Regions from separate parts of the Homo sapiens genome. Here all the other regions are linked to region 1. Evidence: promoter capture Hi-C in 16 types of primary human blood cells and fetal thymus (Javierre and others, 2016). All regions are on one chromosome and are shown on one strand. The core of a region is centred on a gene start or on the middle of the fragment in contact, and the rest is flanking DNA. Distances in the headings are between cores, read along the strand shown. Region 1 holds the start of MINDY2-DT (MINDY2 divergent transcript). Region 2 has its middle 140 kb from the start of AQP9. Region 3 has its middle 140 kb from the start of LIPC. Region 4 has its middle 120 kb from the start of LIPC. Region 5 has its middle 110 kb from the start of LIPC. Region 6 has its middle 83 kb from the start of LIPC. Region 7 has its middle 15 kb from the start of LIPC.

Evidence for each region. Contacts are between HindIII fragments. The CHiCAGO score rates a contact against its expected background, and 5 or more counts as called.
Region 2: a fragment that was not itself captured here is called in contact with the fragment with the promoter of MINDY2-DT in region 1 in 10 of 17 cell types (total CD4 T cells, naive CD4 T cells, M2 macrophages and 7 more); the score reaches 10.4 in total CD4 T cells.
Region 3: a contact is called between a fragment that was not itself captured here and the fragment with the promoter of MINDY2-DT in region 1, in 5 of 17 cell types (total CD4 T cells, fetal thymus, M2 macrophages and 2 more). The highest score is 9.3, in total CD4 T cells.
Region 4: a fragment that was not itself captured here is called in contact with the fragment with the promoter of MINDY2-DT in region 1 in 6 of 17 cell types (endothelial precursors, total CD4 T cells, fetal thymus and 3 more); the score reaches 8.0 in endothelial precursors.
Region 5: a fragment that was not itself captured here is called in contact with the fragment with the promoter of MINDY2-DT in region 1 in 8 of 17 cell types (M1 macrophages, M2 macrophages, naive CD4 T cells and 5 more); the score reaches 8.2 in M1 macrophages.
Region 6: a fragment that was not itself captured here is called in contact with the fragment with the promoter of MINDY2-DT in region 1 in 1 of 17 cell types (fetal thymus); the score reaches 5.0 in fetal thymus.
Region 7: a contact is called between a fragment that was not itself captured here and the fragment with the promoter of MINDY2-DT in region 1, in 2 of 17 cell types (erythroblasts and total CD4 T cells). The highest score is 5.7, in erythroblasts.

The regions. Positions count from the first base shown.
Region 1 is chr15:58,769,644-58,772,289 of GRCh38, forward strand. It overlaps MINDY2-DT (MINDY2 divergent transcript), which reads right to left and starts at 1,331. Exons shown (of 2, transcript NR_135474.1): 1 at 744-1,331. MINDY2 (MINDY lysine 48 deubiquitinase 2) reads left to right here and starts at 1,659. Exons shown (of 9, transcript NM_001040450.3): 1 at 1,659-2,592. The coding sequence starts at 1,753. RefSeq lists an enhancer at 596-1,521 and a silencer at 1,334-1,613. The HindIII fragment of the contact is 12,290 bases long and covers 1-2,646 here.
Region 2 is chr15:58,274,232-58,276,877 of GRCh38, forward strand. No RefSeq gene overlaps it. Among named protein-coding and RNA genes, the nearest start is that of AQP9, 140 kb to the left of the region's middle. The HindIII fragment of the contact is 5,115 bases long and covers 1-2,646 here.
Region 3 is chr15:58,290,270-58,292,915 of GRCh38, forward strand. No RefSeq gene overlaps it. Among named protein-coding and RNA genes, the nearest start is that of LIPC, 140 kb to the right of the region's middle. The HindIII fragment of the contact is 4,949 bases long and covers 1-2,646 here.
Region 4 is chr15:58,306,375-58,309,020 of GRCh38, forward strand. No RefSeq gene overlaps it. Among named protein-coding and RNA genes, the nearest start is that of LIPC, 120 kb to the right of the region's middle. The HindIII fragment of the contact is 2,162 bases long and covers 246-2,407 here.
Region 5 is chr15:58,325,313-58,327,958 of GRCh38, forward strand. No RefSeq gene overlaps it. Among named protein-coding and RNA genes, the nearest start is that of LIPC, 110 kb to the right of the region's middle. The HindIII fragment of the contact is 721 bases long and covers 975-1,695 here.
Region 6 is chr15:58,347,209-58,349,854 of GRCh38, forward strand. No RefSeq gene overlaps it. Among named protein-coding and RNA genes, the nearest start is that of LIPC, 83 kb to the right of the region's middle. The HindIII fragment of the contact is 6,422 bases long and covers 1-2,646 here.
Region 7 is chr15:58,415,591-58,418,236 of GRCh38, forward strand. No RefSeq gene overlaps it. Among named protein-coding and RNA genes, the nearest start is that of LIPC, 15 kb to the right of the region's middle. The HindIII fragment of the contact is 2,111 bases long and covers 258-2,368 here.

The DNA.
Region 1 (2,646 bases), core at 81-2,580:
CCCGTCTCTACTAAAAATACAAAAAGTTAGCTGGGCGTGGTGGCGGGCGCCTGTAGTCCCAGCTACTCAGGAGGCTGAGGCAGGAGAATGGCGTGAACCCGGGAGGCGGAGCTTGCAGTGAGCCGAGATCGCGCCACTGCACGCCAGCCTGGGCGACAGAGCAAGACTCCGTCTCAAAAACAACAACAACAACAAATTAGCCAGGCATGGTGGCGGGCGCCTATAGTCCCAGCTACTCGGGAGGCTGAGGCAGGAGAATCGCTTGAACCCGGGAGGCGGAGGTTGCAGTGAGCCAAGATCGTGCCACTGCACTCCAGCCTGGGCGACAGAGAGAGACTCCGTTTCAAAAAAAAAAAAAAACAAAAGCAAAAACAAAAACAAAAAAACATATAAGTATGTATTAAAAAATAGCAATAAGAAAAAAAAAGACAGTAAGCTCCATGAAGATATAAGCTCCGTGATCCACTATGGCATCTCCAGTGACAGACAGCATCCAGCAACTTACTTGGTACTAAAATGTATTAAAGGAATGAATGAAATACTACTTTGCAATCTTGTCTGCCTTCTCTAACCAACAGAGGTGCAAAAATATCACATTCTAATTATGTATCAGGTATTTATATGTCTGCGAAGGAAGACCTGTCTCGTTAATTTTTTATCCCCAACAGCCTAGAAAATGTTGAAAGAAAAAAGATGGGGGAAAAAGCCCTTTTCTGTAACAAGTTAGAATAGGACCCACATACATTTTGTTACTAACAAAACGTCCAGCTTGTCTTTCTTCTTTGAAAACTGCATGGCCTTAAGAGGAGTCCATTCTAATTAGGAAAAAAGTCACCTTTTCAGAAGCAGGCGCTTCCCACTCCATGCAAAGTGAAGCCAAGTTAGCAAAACCGCAAAGACTTGGCTAATTCAAATACAAGCTAATTTATTATTATTGGCGCAAATTAGCCACTTTCTTTTGCTACGCATGTCAATGTCCACAATCATACCGACCCTTTCCTGTAGGGCGAATGTCTCACCAGTAGCTGGTGAGAAGCACAGCTCTTCTCAGCCAAAACCGACAGAGACTGGAATTTGTGCAGTGCAGTAATCCAAAGCCGTCGAGTAGATATGCCTGCTTTAAAATCTGCATCTCGTAAGAAATGCCTTAATTTTCCATATTAGGAGCTGAGAAACCAAGTCCCCTGAGCCCTTCAGGGACAAGTTCTTTTCCAAATACTACAACCACCTCCAACCACCCAACAATGCCTCAGGCCGAGGGTGGGCCACACGCGACCCAGCGCTAAAGGGTCACAGCCAAGCTGTCCGCCTCCTGCCTTCCCTTTAAAGAAGCCGCACACAAGGGAGCTGCCCGGGAGTTCAACTTCCGGCCACATAGTGAGAGGATGTTTTCCTACTGGAGCTGAGCCGCGGGGGCGCGCCCCCCGGCCGCGCCCTCCTAGCCACGCCCTCCACGCCCGGCCTTCCGAGAGCGAGCTCGGTCGGACGCACGGAAAGGGCTGGGCCACGTGGGCGGCTGCTGAGTGGTTCGCCTTCGCCTCTCAGCGCGCAGTCAGGCGGAGGCAAGCTCAGAGCGCACGGACAGAGCGGTAGCGCGCGCCCGCGCGCGTTCTTAGTACTCTCCCCGGTGACGTGCCTGACCGAGGCCGCGCCAGGGCGCTGTTGCTGCCAATACAGCTGTCATGGCGTCCAAGGCGCTGGCTGCGGAGAAGTGGCCGCGGTCTCCATAGAGCTGGGGGCGGGCGGCCCGGTATGGAGAGCAGCCCCGAGAGCCTGCAGCCGCTAGAACACGGGGTGGCGGCCGGGCCAGCGTCAGGGACAGGTTCTTCGCAGGAAGGGCTACAGGAGACCAGGCTCGCCGCTGGTGATGGTCCTGGGGTATGGGCGGCGGAGACCAGCGGCGGGAATGGGCTGGGGGCGGCGGCCGCCAGGAGGAGCCTCCCGGACTCGGCTTCTCCCGCGGGCTCTCCTGAGGTTCCCGGACCCTGCAGCTCCTCCGCGGGTTTGGACTTGAAGGACAGTGGTTTGGAGAGTCCTGCTGCCGCCGAGGCGCCTCTGAGAGGGCAGTACAAGGTGACCGCCTCCCCGGAGACAGCCGTGGCCGGAGTGGGTCATGAGTTGGGTACCGCCGGAGACGCGGGAGCCCGCCCGGATCTCGCCGGCACCTGCCAAGCAGAACTGACCGCCGCCGGCTCCGAAGAGCCCAGCAGCGCCGGCGGCCTCAGCAGCAGTTGCAGCGACCCGAGCCCTCCTGGGGAATCTCCGAGCCTGGACTCTCTGGAGTCGTTCTCTAACCTGCATTCTTTTCCCAGTAGCTGCGAGTTCAATAGTGAGGAGGGAGCGGAGAACAGGGTCCCTGAGGAGGAGGAGGGCGCGGCGGTGTTGCCCGGGGCTGTTCCTCTGTGCAAGGAGGAGGAGGGGGAGGAGACCGCTCAGGTGCTGGCGGCCTCCAAGGAACGCTTCCCGGGACAATCTGTGTATCACATCAAGTGGATCCAGTGGAAGGAAGAGAACACACCCATCATCACCCAGAATGAGAACGGACCCTGCCCCTTGCTGGCCATCCTCAATGTTTTGCTCCTGGCCTGGAAGGTACATTCTGCAGCTTTCTACTTCCTACAGCTTTTGGGGTGGAGGAAAACGGGG
Region 2 (2,646 bases), core at 101-2,600, 500 kb before region 1:
TATACAGCTGTTCTTTTTTTTTTTTTTTTTTTTTTAGATAGAGTCTCGCTCTATTGCCAGACTGGAGTGCAGTGGTACGATCTCATCTCGGCTCACGGCAACCTCTGCCTCCTGGGTTCAAGCGATTCTCCTGCCTCAGCCTCCTGAGTAGCTGGGACTACAGGCACACGCCACCACGCCCAGCTAATTTTTGTATTTTTAGTACAGACAGGGTTTCACCATGTTGGCCAGGATGGTCTCTATCTCTTGACCTTGTGATCCAGCCACCTCGGCCTATGCAGCTACTCTTTTATGATTATGTACTATTCTGAATGTATCATATATTTCAATAAATATGTTTACAAAAATACATATATTTATACAAAATTTTGGGGTCAACAAACTAGAAATGTTTTGTAAATAAATCATAATAAAACACCATATATTAAAACTGTGGGAATGTAAATAAAGTAGTACTTATAGAAAACAAATCCATGACTTTAAATAACTATATTGATTTCAAAAAAAATGAGGTAAGATACTAGAGAAAAAAAAATTTAAATGTATAAGGAAGAAAATCATAAGGTTAAGGAGAAACAGTCTGAGAAATTCTGAATGTTAATAGCTTCTCTAGTGTTAACTGTCCTTGCCTTTATGGATAGCCCATCTATGCAAGTAGGACATCAGAGCATTGAAACTGCTTTTGCCCTGACGGCTTTTGTTGATATAGGCAAACTTGACTTCAGTTTTCATAAGGGAAAAAAAGAAAGAATGGCCCAGGGCCCAACCAGAGACTAGGAATCTAATAGGAGGCCCTCTTACACATGAAGCTGGTACTGAAAGACCACGCCCCCAGGGTAAGGTAAACCATAAGTAAATCTGCCCCAACCCAACCCCAGGACACTGCAGTCCGGGTTGCCTCAGTGCCAAGTGCAGCTGGTGTTCAGCTAGCCTCTCTAGTTTCTACCGTTCCTTAAATTCTGGCCTGCTAGCTCTTTATGACCTTGTAGGTTCTATAACACTTTGATAAGATTTTAAATATAGTTTAGAAAAAAGTATATTTATGCATGTGTAGTTTAGGTAGGATTTAGGCATATTTATCATGAGGGTGGGCTTCATTTACCTAGCCTGACATTATCAGAAATCAAATTTTTATATGTACTCAAAGTATAAAAATATATCTGGGAGTCACGCACACCAGCTTCCGGTTAATGGTTACCTCTGAGGTGGAAGAGAGGAAAAAGAGATGAAGACACATCTTTAGCTTTCTTTGTAATGTTTCTTGTCTTTAAAAGAAAACAAGTGTCTGTGCTGGGCATTGTAGTACATGCCTATAATTTAATCCCAGCTACTCAGAAGGCTAAGGAGGGAGTATCACTTGAGCCCGGGAGTTTGAGACTAGCCTGGGCAACATAGTGAGACCCTATTTGAAAAAAAACAAGAAAAGGTTCTGAAGCAAATTTGCAAAAAGTTAACATCTATTAAACTCTAGTAGTAGGCGACAGCAGACATTCGTGATTTGTTTGCCCAATATCCACTCTCTCTTTTTTTGTTAACAAAACCCCAATTTTGATGAGATTGGTGAAGTCACTTTTCCAAAGTTCCTTGGAGTCTGGAGGGGCCATATCACATAGTTCTGGCCAAAGAGATGTAGGCAAAGTCCCTTGGATGTGCTTCCTGATGTGCTAAAACAACAACTACAATGTTTTTATTGTATGGAGAAGGCCCCCTTCCTGTCCGACAGTAGCACAGCCTTATTTAGATCATGGGGATGGAAGCTGCCTAGGGTGATGCTAGCACTGGACATGCGGTGAGAAGCAGCAGCCTGGTCCCAGAGATAGCTCTGAGATACCGCATTGGCTGTGCACTGCCTACCTCCAAACTTCTTGTTATGGCCAAAAAAATTAACTTTTTTAAACCACTATTTTTCATTGTTCTATTACAGGTCCTGAATTCAGTTCCATGTAGTGTGTGTGTGTGGGTGTGTGTGTGTGTGTGTGTATGTGTGTGTGTGTGTGTGTGTGTGTGTAGAGAGAGATATATATACGTATATATCTCTCTATCTATATATGTATATAGATATACATATCTCTCTATACATATAGAGAGAGATATACATATCTATACATATAGAGAGAGATATACATATCTCTCTATATATATACATATATATCTATATATGTGTATATATCTCTTTTTTTTTTTTTTTAATGGAGTTTTGCTCTTGTTGCCCAGGCTGGCGTGCAGTGGCACGATCGCAGCTCACTGCAACCTCCGCCTCCCGGATTCAAGCGATTCTCCTACCTCAGCCTCCCAAGTAGCTGGAATTACAGGCATGTGCCACCATGCCCAGCTACTTTTGTGTTTTTAGTAAAGACGGGGTTTCACCATGTTGGTCAGGCTGGTCTCGAACTCCTGACCTCAGGTGATCCGCCGCCTCGGCCTCTCAAAGTGCTGGGATTACAGGCATGAGCCACCGCGCCCGGCCATGCATTGATTTTATTGTATTATTTCACTTATGTCGAAATGTCTCAGAAGTAAAAGTATTTTAAAATTTAAAGAGGTAACAGAAACCATAGGAAAGTAGAAATTATTGAATCAAATGAGTGCAGCCCCTCTGCTCTGGTTAGGCTGGATGAGGGGAATTCGTGGCTTGAGCAGTTGTTG
Region 3 (2,646 bases), core at 104-2,603, 480 kb before region 1:
TATGGGGTGACTTATCACACACTGAGCAAATAGCCATGAAAACAAGTTGTGTTTAAAAGAAGAAACTATTACAATCAGAGCCAACACTTATTAACAACTTACCTTTTGCCAAGCACTATTCTAAGCAATTCATATGTTAACTCATTTAATCCTTACAACAACCCTATGGGAAGTTTTACTATTAACCCCTCATTTTACAAAACACAAGATTGAGGCACTGAAAGATTAAATAACTCATCTGAGGTTACACAGCTGGTAAGTGTTGGATCCAGAATGCCTTTTTCTTTTAAATAAACATTTTGTTTTGGAATAATTTTTTATTTATAGAAAAGCTGCAAAGATGATACAGAGAGTTCCCATATGCCCATCACACAGCTCCCCCATTTGTTAATATCTTACATAACCGTGGTACATTTGGCAAAATGAAGAAACCAACATTAACCAAAACGCCTGACTTTGAGTTTCACCAGCTTTTCTACTAACGCCCTCTTCCTGTTCCTGAGTCCCAGGGTATCACAGTAAACTTAATTGTGTTCTTGCCTCATTTTCTTCTGGTCTGTGACAGTTTCTCAGGTTTGCCTTGTTTTTCAAGACCTTAACATTTGTGAGAATGACTAGTCAGATATTTTGTAGGAATGTTCCTCAATATGAGTTTGTGTGATGTTTTGCTCATGATTGGACTGGGGTTATGAGATTTTGGAAGGAAGATCACGGACTTGAAGTGCCCTTCTCACCACCTCATATCACAGGTCCATGAGATCAACATGATGTGACCGGTGATGGTATCCTTCATCACTTGATTAAGGTGATGTTTGCCGGGTCTCTCCACTATGTTACTATTTTTCACATCTATAATCTTTGGAAACAAATTTCTAAGTCTATCCATTCTGGAAAAGGGGGGAGGGAATTCACTTCACTTTCTGGAGTGAGGGGTATCTACATATATTACCAGAATTGTTCTGTAAAGAAAATGTGTCTCTACTCCACCATTTTATTAAATCAGTTATTTATAGCAATAACGACCCATATATATTTATTTTTACATGGTGTTACAGTCCAATACTATGTTATTTATTGTTGCTCAAATTATCCAACTTTGGCCATTGGGTGCTTTCAGGTTGGCTCCTGTGTCCCTTTGATACACTGCCATCAATGTGGTTGGGATTTTCTTGTTTCCTTTTAATATTTTCTCATTTTCTGGTACCACAAGACACTCCAGGCTCATTTTGTATATCTCCTGTTTACAGTCTTAGATTGAGCCATTTCTCCGTGTAGCCCTGGTTCCTTTTGTTGGAGGACAGCACTGGAAACCAAGATCTGGATGCCACGTCTGCTCAATGCTACTGCAGTTTCATTGCTTTTGGGCCCTCTCCATGAACAGAGCAAGGAAATATACGTATGTATGCGAACCCATGTATACACACATCTCTATAACTGTTTCGATGTCTATATATATTAAGCTAAACATGAGTGCATATTAACAGTCTTTAATCCAGGAGCACAGGGTTCATTTTAGCCTTTCTGGGCTGCTTATATGTAACTTCCCTCTATGATAGTGAGAAAACTGGTTCCCATCATCTACCATCCATTTACTTATTTTTCAACCCTACCTACAGATAAAGAGTTTCAGAATCATTAAACTGTAAGAAACTTACCAAGAAAAGTACAATGTTTCTGTCTACTTCCTTTAGCCTTTAGCCTCTAGCCTCACAGTTTCTTGCTAAAATCACTTTTTCCAGTCACTTAGGTCAGCTCCTCTTTTCCCCCAAACCCCCTTCAGTGCTGTTATATCATACACTGTGCACCAGTCAGGATTCTGCCAGAGAAACACAGCCACAGAACCAGTAGGATATGGAGATATACACACACATGCAGACACACACACACAGTTTCTTGGCTTACAGGTGGCCATCTTATTCCTGTGTCTTCATATCACTTTCCTTCTATGCAGGTTTGTGTCCAAATTTTCCCCTTTTTATAAAAAAGGTTATAGCCTTATTGGATCAGGGCCCACCCTCATCACCTCATCTTGATCATCTGGGAAACTCCTATTTCCAAATAAAATCACATTCACAGGTACTGGGAGTGAGGGCTTCAACATCTTTTGGGGGTATGCAGTTCAACTCCTTATAATAGACAAACCTGAAGTCCACAGGACCCAAAGTCACCAAAGTCAGGAAGTGTAGGCTGGAAAGTCTTAGGCAGGAGCTGAAGCTGCTATCCCCAGGTAGAATTTCTCCTTTAGAAAAGACTCAGTTCTGCTCTTAAGGCTTTTCATCTGATTATGACCCCTCCCTCAAATTATCTAATATAACCTTTCTTATTTAAAGTCAACTGATTAGGGACTTTAATCACATCTACCAAATACCTTCACAGAAACATCTAGATTAGTGTTTAACTGAATAGCAGGGGACTGTAGCCCAGCCAAGCTGACACATAAAACTGACCATCTCACATTGTAATACATTTAGATGCATTTTCCCTAGTCTGCATTCCACAGCATGCCTTCTGAGGTCAGAGAATATACAAAGCAAGTCTAGAAGCTGCTGTGACTATGAGCGTCAACGGTGAAATCTTAGGCATCTACTTCATGCCAGACTTGTTCCACATGCTTTATCTCAGTTAATCCTTTGAGGAGCCCTGTCA
Region 4 (2,646 bases), core at 77-2,576, 460 kb before region 1:
GTATACAGCTGTTGCCTCAAGCCCCCGTTCTCTCCAACAACTTCACTTCCTTTCTCTGGCTCCCCAGCCTCTCCTCAAAACCCCTCAACCCAGCAACTAAAGAGTTGGAAGACTCTGACTGGCCCTACGTGCTAAAAAGGTTATTAAATACCTTGGAAATCATCTCTACCAGTTTTAATACTCATTCCCTTTTCACAGTACTTCAGTGCACGTGGACAGAGTCTGAAAGAAGATTTTGGGCAAAAAGCTTCCTGAGCATAGGTCACACGAAGCTGAAAATCCCTACCCGACCTGTCCACCATGCTGATACTAACTGGTAAAGCCAACAGCAAATTGGGACCTTTGCTCAGTTTTTGCAAGAGACCTCTTGGGACTGTGAGGTCAAAACGTGTTTTGTTCTCAAATATACCAAGTCCATAGTCAGGTGAACTCCATGCTCCATGAGTTGTCCAAAACAAAACAAACAAAAAGAAAAAAGCAAGACACACTAAGAAAATAAAGGGAAAAGAAAGACCCAGGAAATGATCTCACACTTCCCAACCAGCTCCTTCTTCCTGTAATACAAAGAACAGGCCCAATAAGTCTGAGGTTTGAGCAAAGCATTTCTGTCCTCTCTGGGGCAAACAGGAGGGACTGCAGCTTTCCATCATTAGCCAGAGTAAACCACATTAAATAGAACAATCAAGCAACATGCAGGGACCAGCTAGAAGCATGTGTCCCCTGTAAATCTGGTCAGAAATAGTAAATACAGGAAACGGAGACAATATGCTGCCCTATTAGTTCATTCTCTTTCATAATTAACAGCAGATGAATGTAAGCAGTGATACAATCTTTATCTTACCCAAAGCACCTTAATCCTCTGAGACCCCAGCTTTACTGTCTGCAGAAAGTGAGTCCTTTTTAACTCATTTAACAGACATCAATTGAGCAACTACTATTTGCCAAAAACTCTGCTAGGAGCTAGCGTGGAATGTAAGCCTAAGTAAGACATGATGTTGGTTCCCAGGAGCCCAGGAGACAGACATGCAAACAAATAATTATAACGCACTCTGGGAAAAGCTGTAACAGACTCTATGCAAGGTGCATGGGAGCTCAGAGCAAGCAGTAATTAGTTTGGCTGCTGAGTTAGGAAAGACCTCAAGGAGAGGCAGCATCTGAAATAACATCACAGATGGATGGGTCCAGATAATCCCTGTGGTTTATTTCAACTCTGTGTTCAGATTCTGTTAAAAAAAAAAAAAGAGAGAGAGAGAGAGAGAAAGAGAGAGAGTACAATAGAGACACACGCTGAGAGCAGTCTTGAATAGGCATGCATGTTCCTTAAAGGGTCAGAGCCTCTCTTTATGCATCACTGAGCACCCAAGACAGTGGCCTGTTGATATTTGCTAGATCTTGAAAGGTATCAGACTAAGGTATGATTTGGAGATTATGTCACGACATTAAAGAATCAGCCTTCAGTGAGGAAACAGTGGATCCCTTCACTATGAATCACGCATTTCTCAGAAGTCTCTGATTCCCTGAAATTTCCCTTGGAAAATTCCCAAATGCACTAGTGAACTCTTCCAAATGGCACAGTTTTCGATCATGTCAGCCTCACCATTCCAGTAAGAAAAACTGGGTGTCCCAGTAAGATTTTCAATGGGAACGTCTTTCCCATTGAAGACGTGGTTGGGTTTCATTTTTTCACCTTCCCTCCCCCTGTTTCTTTTTATGGGCTGGTTTGGAGTGATAATTTATTGTTTTAAAAAAGAGTAAACCTATGATATTTCTAAATAGAGACTTTGGAAAAAACCTGACAATTCTGGGAATATATGTGGAATTAATGAAAAGTTTTCCCTAAAGAACAGCCCCCTTTCAAGGCCTGCTGTCTGGGAGCCAAATGGAAGGGAGGGCAGGGCAGGAGAGAGGAAAAGGCATTCCAAAAGCAAACTCAGGAGCAGACTTTGGTAGAGGAGAAAAGAAATGAATTCATCAATTCTGACCCCTCCCCTCCCCACCTAATCATCATGGCAGGTAGGAACTTCTCCCATAAGTTTATTGGTGCGTTTGTCTAACTATGTTCTTACTGAGCATCTATACAACCCAGGAACTGGAAGAGAGGAATCAGATACAAAGGCAAAGGAAAAGGCTCTCAAAGCAGCTTATGCTCTATACGCAGGTATGGATGGTCCCCAACTTGTGATGGTGCTGCTTACAATTTTTCAGCTTTACTATGGCAAGAGGCATTCAGTAGAAACTATACTTCAAGTACCCATACGACCATCCTGTTTGTGACTTTTGGTATACTATTCAATACATTACTTGAGATTTTCAACGCTTTATTATAAAATAGGCTTTGTGTTAGATGATTTTGCCCACCTGTAGTCTGATGTCAGTGTTCTGAGCCCATTTAAGGTAGGCTAGGCTAAGCTTGATGTTCAGTAAGTTCCATATATTAAATGTATGTTTCTGAGGATATTTTCAACTTACAATGGGTTTATCAGGATGAAACCCCATTATAAGTCAAGGAGCCTCTGTACATGGATTTTTTTTTTATCATGAACAAAGCATAGGGGGCAGTGCTGAGTGCGGAAAGTAGTCTTGGCCTCTTGGTCTCTCCATCGAAAGCTGGCACTAGGTGTGCAAGGACCACAGTAAATTCTATGC
Region 5 (2,646 bases), core at 85-2,584, 440 kb before region 1:
TTCCCCTCAATTTTTTTGAAATGGTTTCAGTAGAATTGCTACCAGCTCTTTTTTGTAGCTCTGGTGGAATTTGGCTATGACTCTCTCTGATCCAGGCTTATTTTAGCTTGTAGGTTTTTTATTACTCATTCAGTTTTGGAACTTGATATTGATCTGTTCAGGGTTTCAATTTATTTCTGATTCAATCTTGGAACATTGTGTATTTCCATGAATTTATCCATTTCTTCTAGATTTGTGGCATACAGGTGTTCATATTAGTCTCTGAGAATCTTTTGTATTTCTGTGGGATTAGTTATAATGTCACTTTTGTTCTGTCTGATTGTGCTTATTTGGATATCTCTTCTTTGTTAATCTAGCTAGCGTTCTATTAATCCTGTTTATCCTTTCAAAAAACTAACTTTTGGTTTCATTGACACTTTGTTTGGATTTTGGAGTCTCAATTTCATTCGGTTCTATTCTGATTTTAGTTATTTCTTTTCTTCTACTAGCTTTGGGGTTGGTTTGTTCTTGTTTTTCTAGTTGCTCTAGGTGCGATGTTAGATTGTTAATTTGAGATCTAACTTTTTGAGGTAGGCAGTTGGCACTATAAACTTTCCTCTTAACATTACTTTTGCTGCATTCCAGTTATTTTGGTGTCTTGTGTCCTGTTTTCATTTATTTCAGATAATTTTTTATTTCTGCCTTGATTTCATTGTTTACACCAAAAGTCATTCAGGAGCAAGTTGTTTAATTTCCATGTAGTCTTGTGATTTTGGGAGATCTTCTTGATGTTTATTTCTATTTTTATTCCACTCTGGTCCAAGAGTATGACTGGTAAGATTTTGGCTTTTTAAATGTATTGAGACTTGCTTTATGGCTGAGTATGTGGTCAATCATGGAGTATAGTCCTTGGACAGATTAAAAGAATGTATATTATGTGTTGAATAAGTGGAGTATTCTGTAGATGTCTATTAGGTCCAATTGGTCTGATGTCAAGCTTAGGTCCAGAGTTTTTTTGTCAGTTTTCTGCCTCAGTGGTCTGTCTAATGCTGTCAATAGGGTGTTGAAGTCCCCCATTATTATTGTGTATCTGTCTAAGTCTTTTCATAGGTCTAGAAGTGCTTGCTTCATGAATCTAGGCGCTCCAATGTTGTGTGCATATATATATTTAGGATAGTTAAGTCTTCTAATTAAATGAACCTTTATTATTATGTAATGCCTTTCTTTGTCCTTTTTTACTGTTGTTGGCTTAAAGTTGATTGTATCTGATATAGGAATAGTGACCCTTGGTTTTTTTGTTTTCCATTCCTGTGGTAGAACTTTCTTCAACCCTTTACTTCTGGCTTATGGGTGTCATTACGTGTGACAGGGGTCTCTTGAAAATAGCAGATGGATGGGTCTTGCTTTTTTATCCAACTTGCTACTCTGTGCCTTTTAAGTGAAGAATTTAGACCATTTACATTCAAGGTTAACATTAATATGTGAGGTTTTGGTCCTATTATGATGTTGTTAGCTGTTTGTTTTGTAGTTTCTATTGTTTTTGCTTTTATAGGGTCTGCAGGATATGTACTTAAGTGTATTTTTGTGGTAGCAGGTATTGTTCTTTTGTTTCTGTGTTTAGAACTTCCTTAAGGATCTCTTCTAATACTGGTCTAGTGGTAATGAATTCCCTCAATCCTGGTTTGTCTGGTAAAGATTTTATTTCTTCGTTTATTAAGCTTACTTTGGTGGGATATGAAATCTCTGGTGGAAATTTCTTTTCTTTAAGAATGCTAAAAATAGTACCCCAGTCTCTCCTAGTTTATAAGGTTTCTGCTGAGAAGTCCAATGTTAGCCTAATGGAATTCCCTTAGGACATATGACCTTTTTCTCTAGCTGCTTTCAAGGTTTCTGTCTTTAGCATTGACCTTGGAGATTCCTGTGACTATATGCCTTGGTGATATTCATTTTGTGTAGTATCTCATGGATGCTTTCTGGATTTCTTATATCTGTATGTCTACCTCACTAGCAAGATTAGGGAAGTTTTCTTGAATTAGTACCTCAAATACATTTTCCAAATTGTTTGATTTTTCTCCTTCTCTCTCAGGAATGCCAATAATTTACAGGTTTGGTTGCTTTACATAATCCCATATTTCTCAAAGACTTTTTTAAATTCTTTTTTTCTTTTTTTTTTTTTTTAGATTGGGTTAATTCAAAAGACTGGTCTTCAAGCTCTGAAGTTCTTTCTTTATTGATTTTGTTATTGTTGCTGGTGGTGGTGGTGGTTTGCAGAAACCTTTGGGTTTAATATAATCCCCTTTGTCTATTTTTACTTTTTTTTCAAGACAAGGTCTCACTCTGTCACCCAGGCCAGAGCACAGTGGTATGATCATAGCACACTGCAGCCTCAACTTCCTGGGTTCAAGTGATCCTCCCACCTCAGCCTCCCAAGTAGCTGAGAATGTTGGCACATACCTCTAGGCCCAGCTAATTTTTTTATTTTCTGTAGAGACAGAGTCTCACTATGCTGCCCAGGCTTATTTTTGCTTTTGTTTCCTATACTTTCTAAGTCTTACTCATAAAATCTTTGCCCAAAACAATGTCAATAAGGTTTCCTCCTATGTTTTATCCAAGTAGTTTTACAGTTTCAGATCTTACATTTAAGTCTTCAATTCATTTTTTATTTGA
Region 6 (2,646 bases), core at 100-2,599, 420 kb before region 1:
TGTAGCCTTGTAGTATAGTTTAAAGTCAGGTAGAAACAACAAACAACCCCATCAACAAGTGGGCGAAGGATATGAACAGACACTTCTCAAAAGAAGACATTTATGCAGCCAACAGACACATTAAAAAATGCTCATCATCACTGGCCATCAGAGAAATGCAAATCAAAACCACAATGAGATACCATCTCACACCAGTTAGAATGGCAATCATTAAAAAGTCAGGAAACAACAGGTGCTGGAGAGGATGTGGAGAAATAGGAACACTTTTACACTGTTGGTGGGACTGTAAACTAGTTCAACCATTGTGGAAGTCAGTGTGGTGATTCCTCAGGGATCTAGAACTAGAAATACCATTTGACCCAGCCATCCCATTACTGGGTATATACCCAAAGGATTATAAATCATGCTGCTATAAAGACACATGCACATGTATGTTTATTGTGGCACTATTCACAATAGGAAAGACTTGGAACCAACCCAAATGTCCAACAATGATAGACTGGATTAAAAAAATGTGACACATATACACCATGGAATACTATGCAGCCATAAAAAATGATGAGTTTATGTCCTTTGTAGGGACATGGATGAAGCTGGAAACCATCATTCTCAGCAAACTATCTCAAGGACAAAAAACCAAACACCACATGTTCTCACTCACAGGTGGGAAATGAACAATGAGAACACTTGGACACAGGAAGAGGAACATCACACACTGGGGCCTGTTGTGGGGTGGGGTGGGGGGAGGGATAGCATTAGGAGATATACCTAATGTAAATGACAAGTTAATGGGTGCAGCATACCAACATGGCACATGTATGCATATGTAACAAACCTGCACGTTATGCACATGTACCCTAAAACTTAAAGTATTAAAAAAAAAAAAAAAAAGATTCCTACATCTGCATTGCAAGGTTCAATCCAGGCCTTCCACACTCTCCAGATTCAGTTTTGTGCCTCAAGTTCTCACTGTTTGGTATTTCACATTGTCTGCTGCTACCTACTCAATACCTACTGTGTTGCCACCTTCCCCCACTCCCTAAGCTATTTCTACAGTGGAAAGATGAAACCAGAGAAGAGTCAGTAAACACTTTGCACCTGACCCTCCCTCCCTGCCACAACCACTGCTTTGTGCTACGCTGAGAAGCTCCCTGTCTCTGGCCTTGGTTGATAGCAGAAAACAGGGATAATGCAAAGTATTCCTGAGAAAAAGCACCAAAACCTTGTGCTCAAAAGTGGTGAACATGGCCAAGAGAAGGCCAGAATTCTTGAAGCAATGACAGGTGCAGCCTCTACAGGGGACCTCCATAGTGCTGGAGAGAATATTCAGCAGGGACAGGGATTCATTCCCTATTGAATCCATGGCAATCAAGCTCTGTGTCATATGTTCTTTCAATCAAGCCAAGGCCTTATGTCTTTTTGAGACTCTAAACACAAGTGAGATGGGGGACACCAGGATGAGGCAAGAAGAGATTGGCTGAGTCATTTGCAAACAAGAAGAAATTTGCTATATGATACAGGATAAAGTAGCAGGTGCTAAACAGGAAGTAATTGAGATCATTGAAGGGGAATACAAGCCAGACATTTTTTTTTCAAATTTTTTTCTATTTGATTCTGTGTAAATATTATAACTATAGTCTAGAATATCTTTCTAATGTTGATGAACTGACATATGGGGAGGGAAGAGAACTTTCTCATCAAAGGTGAGGAGAAGCCAAAGCCACAGAAGAGCGGCTCCAGCCCCTGGCTGCCCCAGGCTCAGGTGTCCAGCTGTGGACACTCACTCATGACTAAATGCTGCATATTTCCCGGAAACTCCAGGGCCCAATTTGGGTTGATGAATCCCTTTGTTTTGATGGAGGGAACAAGGTGTTTTCATTTTTTCCTTTAAAATTTTTCTTTTCTTTTCTTTTTCTTTTATTTATTTATTTATTTTTTTTGAGATGGAGTCTCACTCTGTCGCCCAGGCGGGAGTGCAATGGCACAATCTTGACTCACTGCAACCTCCACCTCCCAGGTTCAAGTGATTCTCCTGCCTAAGCCTCCCCAGTAGGTGGGATTACAGGCATGCACCACCACGCCCAGCTAATTTTTGTATTTTTAGTAGAGAGGGGGTTTCACCATGTTGGCCAGGCTGGTCTCGATCTCCTGACCTCATGATCTACCCACCCTGGACTCCCAAAGTCCTGGGATTACAGCAGTGAGCCACTGCGCCCAGACTTAAATTTTTCTTTTTCTTTTTTTTTTTTTTTTTTTGAGATGGAGTCTTGCTCTGTTGCCCAGGCTGGAGTGCAATGGCGCGATAGCCCACTGCAACCTCCGCCTCCCATGTTCAAGCGATTCTCCTGCCTCAGCCTCCCAAGTAGTTGGGATTACAGGCACCCACCACCATGCCTGGCTATTTTTTTTTTTCAGTAGAGGTGAGGTTTCGCCATGTTGGTCAGGCTGGTCTCGAACTCCAAACCTCAGGTGATCCACCCGCCTCGGGCCTCCCAAAGTGCCGAGATTACAGGCGTTGAGCCACTGTGCCCAGCCTTAATTTTTTCTTATCAATTTTTAATCAGTAAAGTAACTCACGCTTGTGGCAACTGAAACAAATGTTGATATTTATCGTTCCTTAAATGTCTATAGTTTTATTTTCTTTAA
Region 7 (2,646 bases), core at 63-2,562, 350 kb before region 1:
CTCACCAGTAATCAGAAAATTTAAAATTAAAACAATGAGATACCATTTTACATCCATCAAACTGGTGAAAATTAAATAATCTGACACTCCTCAAGTGTTGGTGATGAGGTGGAAAAACTGAAGGAACACTCACATTTTGCCAACGATACTTTCACGGAAGTAATTTATTTGAAGAATAAATTGTCAACATCTTACTAACTCTGATGGGACATATATCTTACAATCCAGCAATTTCACTTCTAGGAATAAACTCTAGAAGCTTTCACTTGTGGATGATGCAATGTCTACTGCAATATTGTAATAGGAAAATGAAAAAACTAAATAACACAAGTATCCATCAACCCAATGAACAAATTCTGATACTTTCTTAAAATGGGACCATTTGTAGGTGTTTTATCAACAGAGATAAATCTCGAAAATACACTGCTGAGTGACAAAACAAGTTGCAGATAGATGTGTAGAGTATAAAAGTTTGAAAACATACAAAATAATGGTACAATCATCCCTCTATATCCATGGGATTCCACATCCATAGATTCAATCAACCGAGGATGCAAAATATTTGGGGGGAAAATTATACAAAATTCCAAAAGGCAAAACTTGAATTTGCCACATCCTGAGTACCATGTTAAAACCAGGCAAATGAAGGGATGTATAGGCATTGTATTAAGTATTATAAGTAATCTAGAGGTGATTTACAGCATATGACAGAATGTGCATAGGTTATATGCAAACACTACACCATTTTGTATCAGGGACTTGAGCATCAGTGGGTGGTCCTGGAACCAATCCCACACAGATACTGAGGAACTACTGTATATTTTTCGTAGCTACATACATATGCTGCAAACATATACACACAGAGATGAGAATGAAAGACACCAAACTCAGGGTGGCGTTGCCTCTGAGACAGGAAAAATAAGATCAGGCTTGAGAAGAGATACACAGTTATACAGGTACAGCACTCTATTTTTTAGCAAAAATAGGAAGCAAGTACAGCAAAATATTAGGATTTGATGGAGCTGGGAAGTAGGTGGTATTCAAAACTATGCATTATACGCATGCGTGTGTTTGAAATCATTATAATTTCTTAAGTGAGCACCTCAGTTTTTACATATAAAAACATATAAAGTATGTAAAATATATAAATATCATGAACAGATAATTCATAAAGAAAGAAAAAAGGCAATAAAAATGGAAGTGGTGGTAAATTCAACTTCAACCCATTGGTTTTAAAGAAAAATTTAAAAATGCACATACCATTTTGGCTTATCAATTTAGCATAAAATTACAAAAATGTTAATAGCTAATGTTAACAAGGGTGGAGGATAGGACAGAGGAGGAGTACACTCACTGCTAATGAGTACTTAAAATGACAGAAATTTACTTAACGTAGCAGTGTATATGTAAAGGCAAAATATATAGGTAGATATAGATACCTAGATATAAAACCTTTGCCTTAGCAATTCTACTTTAAGAAATTTATACAAAGGAAAACGTGGTACATATATGATCTGTAGTATTATTTTTAAGGAATACTACGCAGCCATAAAAAAGAACAAAATCACATCCTTTGCAGCAACATGGCTACAGCTGAAGGTCATTATCCTAAGCAAATTAACACAAAAGCAGATAAACACTGCACGTTCTCACTTATAAGTGGGAGCTAAACATTGAGTACAAGTGGACATAAAGATGGAAATAATAGACAGTGGCATTCTAAAAGGGGTGAGAAGGAGAGGGGGACAAAGGTTAAAAAAACCTATCGGGTACAATATTCACTACTTGGGCAATGGAACCATTAGAAGCTCAAACCTCGGCATCACACAATATACCCATGTGACAAACCTGCACATGTTCCCTCAGAATCTAAAATTTTTTTAAGCTACTAAAAAAATAATTTATACAAAGAAAATCATACATGTGGACCAAGATTTATGCATATGTTTATAATAGCATTGTTCATAATAGTGTTATCTTAAATACAGTTAATGAAAAAACAATAGGGAATTAAGCCAATTATGGTACATCTATAGAGTGTAACTGTACTCTGTAGCTATTTCAAATAATGTTTTAAAAGAATATTTAATGCCCCTGAAATATGCCATTAATGTGTTGTTAATACACAGGTATTTAAACACTTTGTACAGTGTGTTTACAGTTATTTTTTTTAAATAATTGTATACATAGAAAAAATGACTTGGGGATATCCACATCAAAATGTCAACAGTGCTTATCTCTAAATGTGAAATCACAGACCTATGTATGTTTTTCTTTTTGTTCTTCTTTATTTTCCTATTTTACAATAATAAACATTTATTGATTTTATAATAGAAAAGTTATTAAAAATAAAACGTGCAACAAAATAAGCTTTGGTTGATTAAAGATTTAAATATAAAATCAAATTATGATAGAACTTGCAGACAACTGGAAAGAGAGTTTATCAGCTCTCTGGGGTAATTTTAACTTTCTCAGCTTTGAAGCAATTGAAATGATTGCACTATAAAAATTAGCATTACTGAAGATTTTTTAAGAGGGAAAATATTTCTATCAAACATTACAAAGAATTAAGATCCATCATAAATAACTAATTCAAATTTGTAAAATAAATGTCAAGATTCCAAAAGATAAATGGGTCAAAGACTG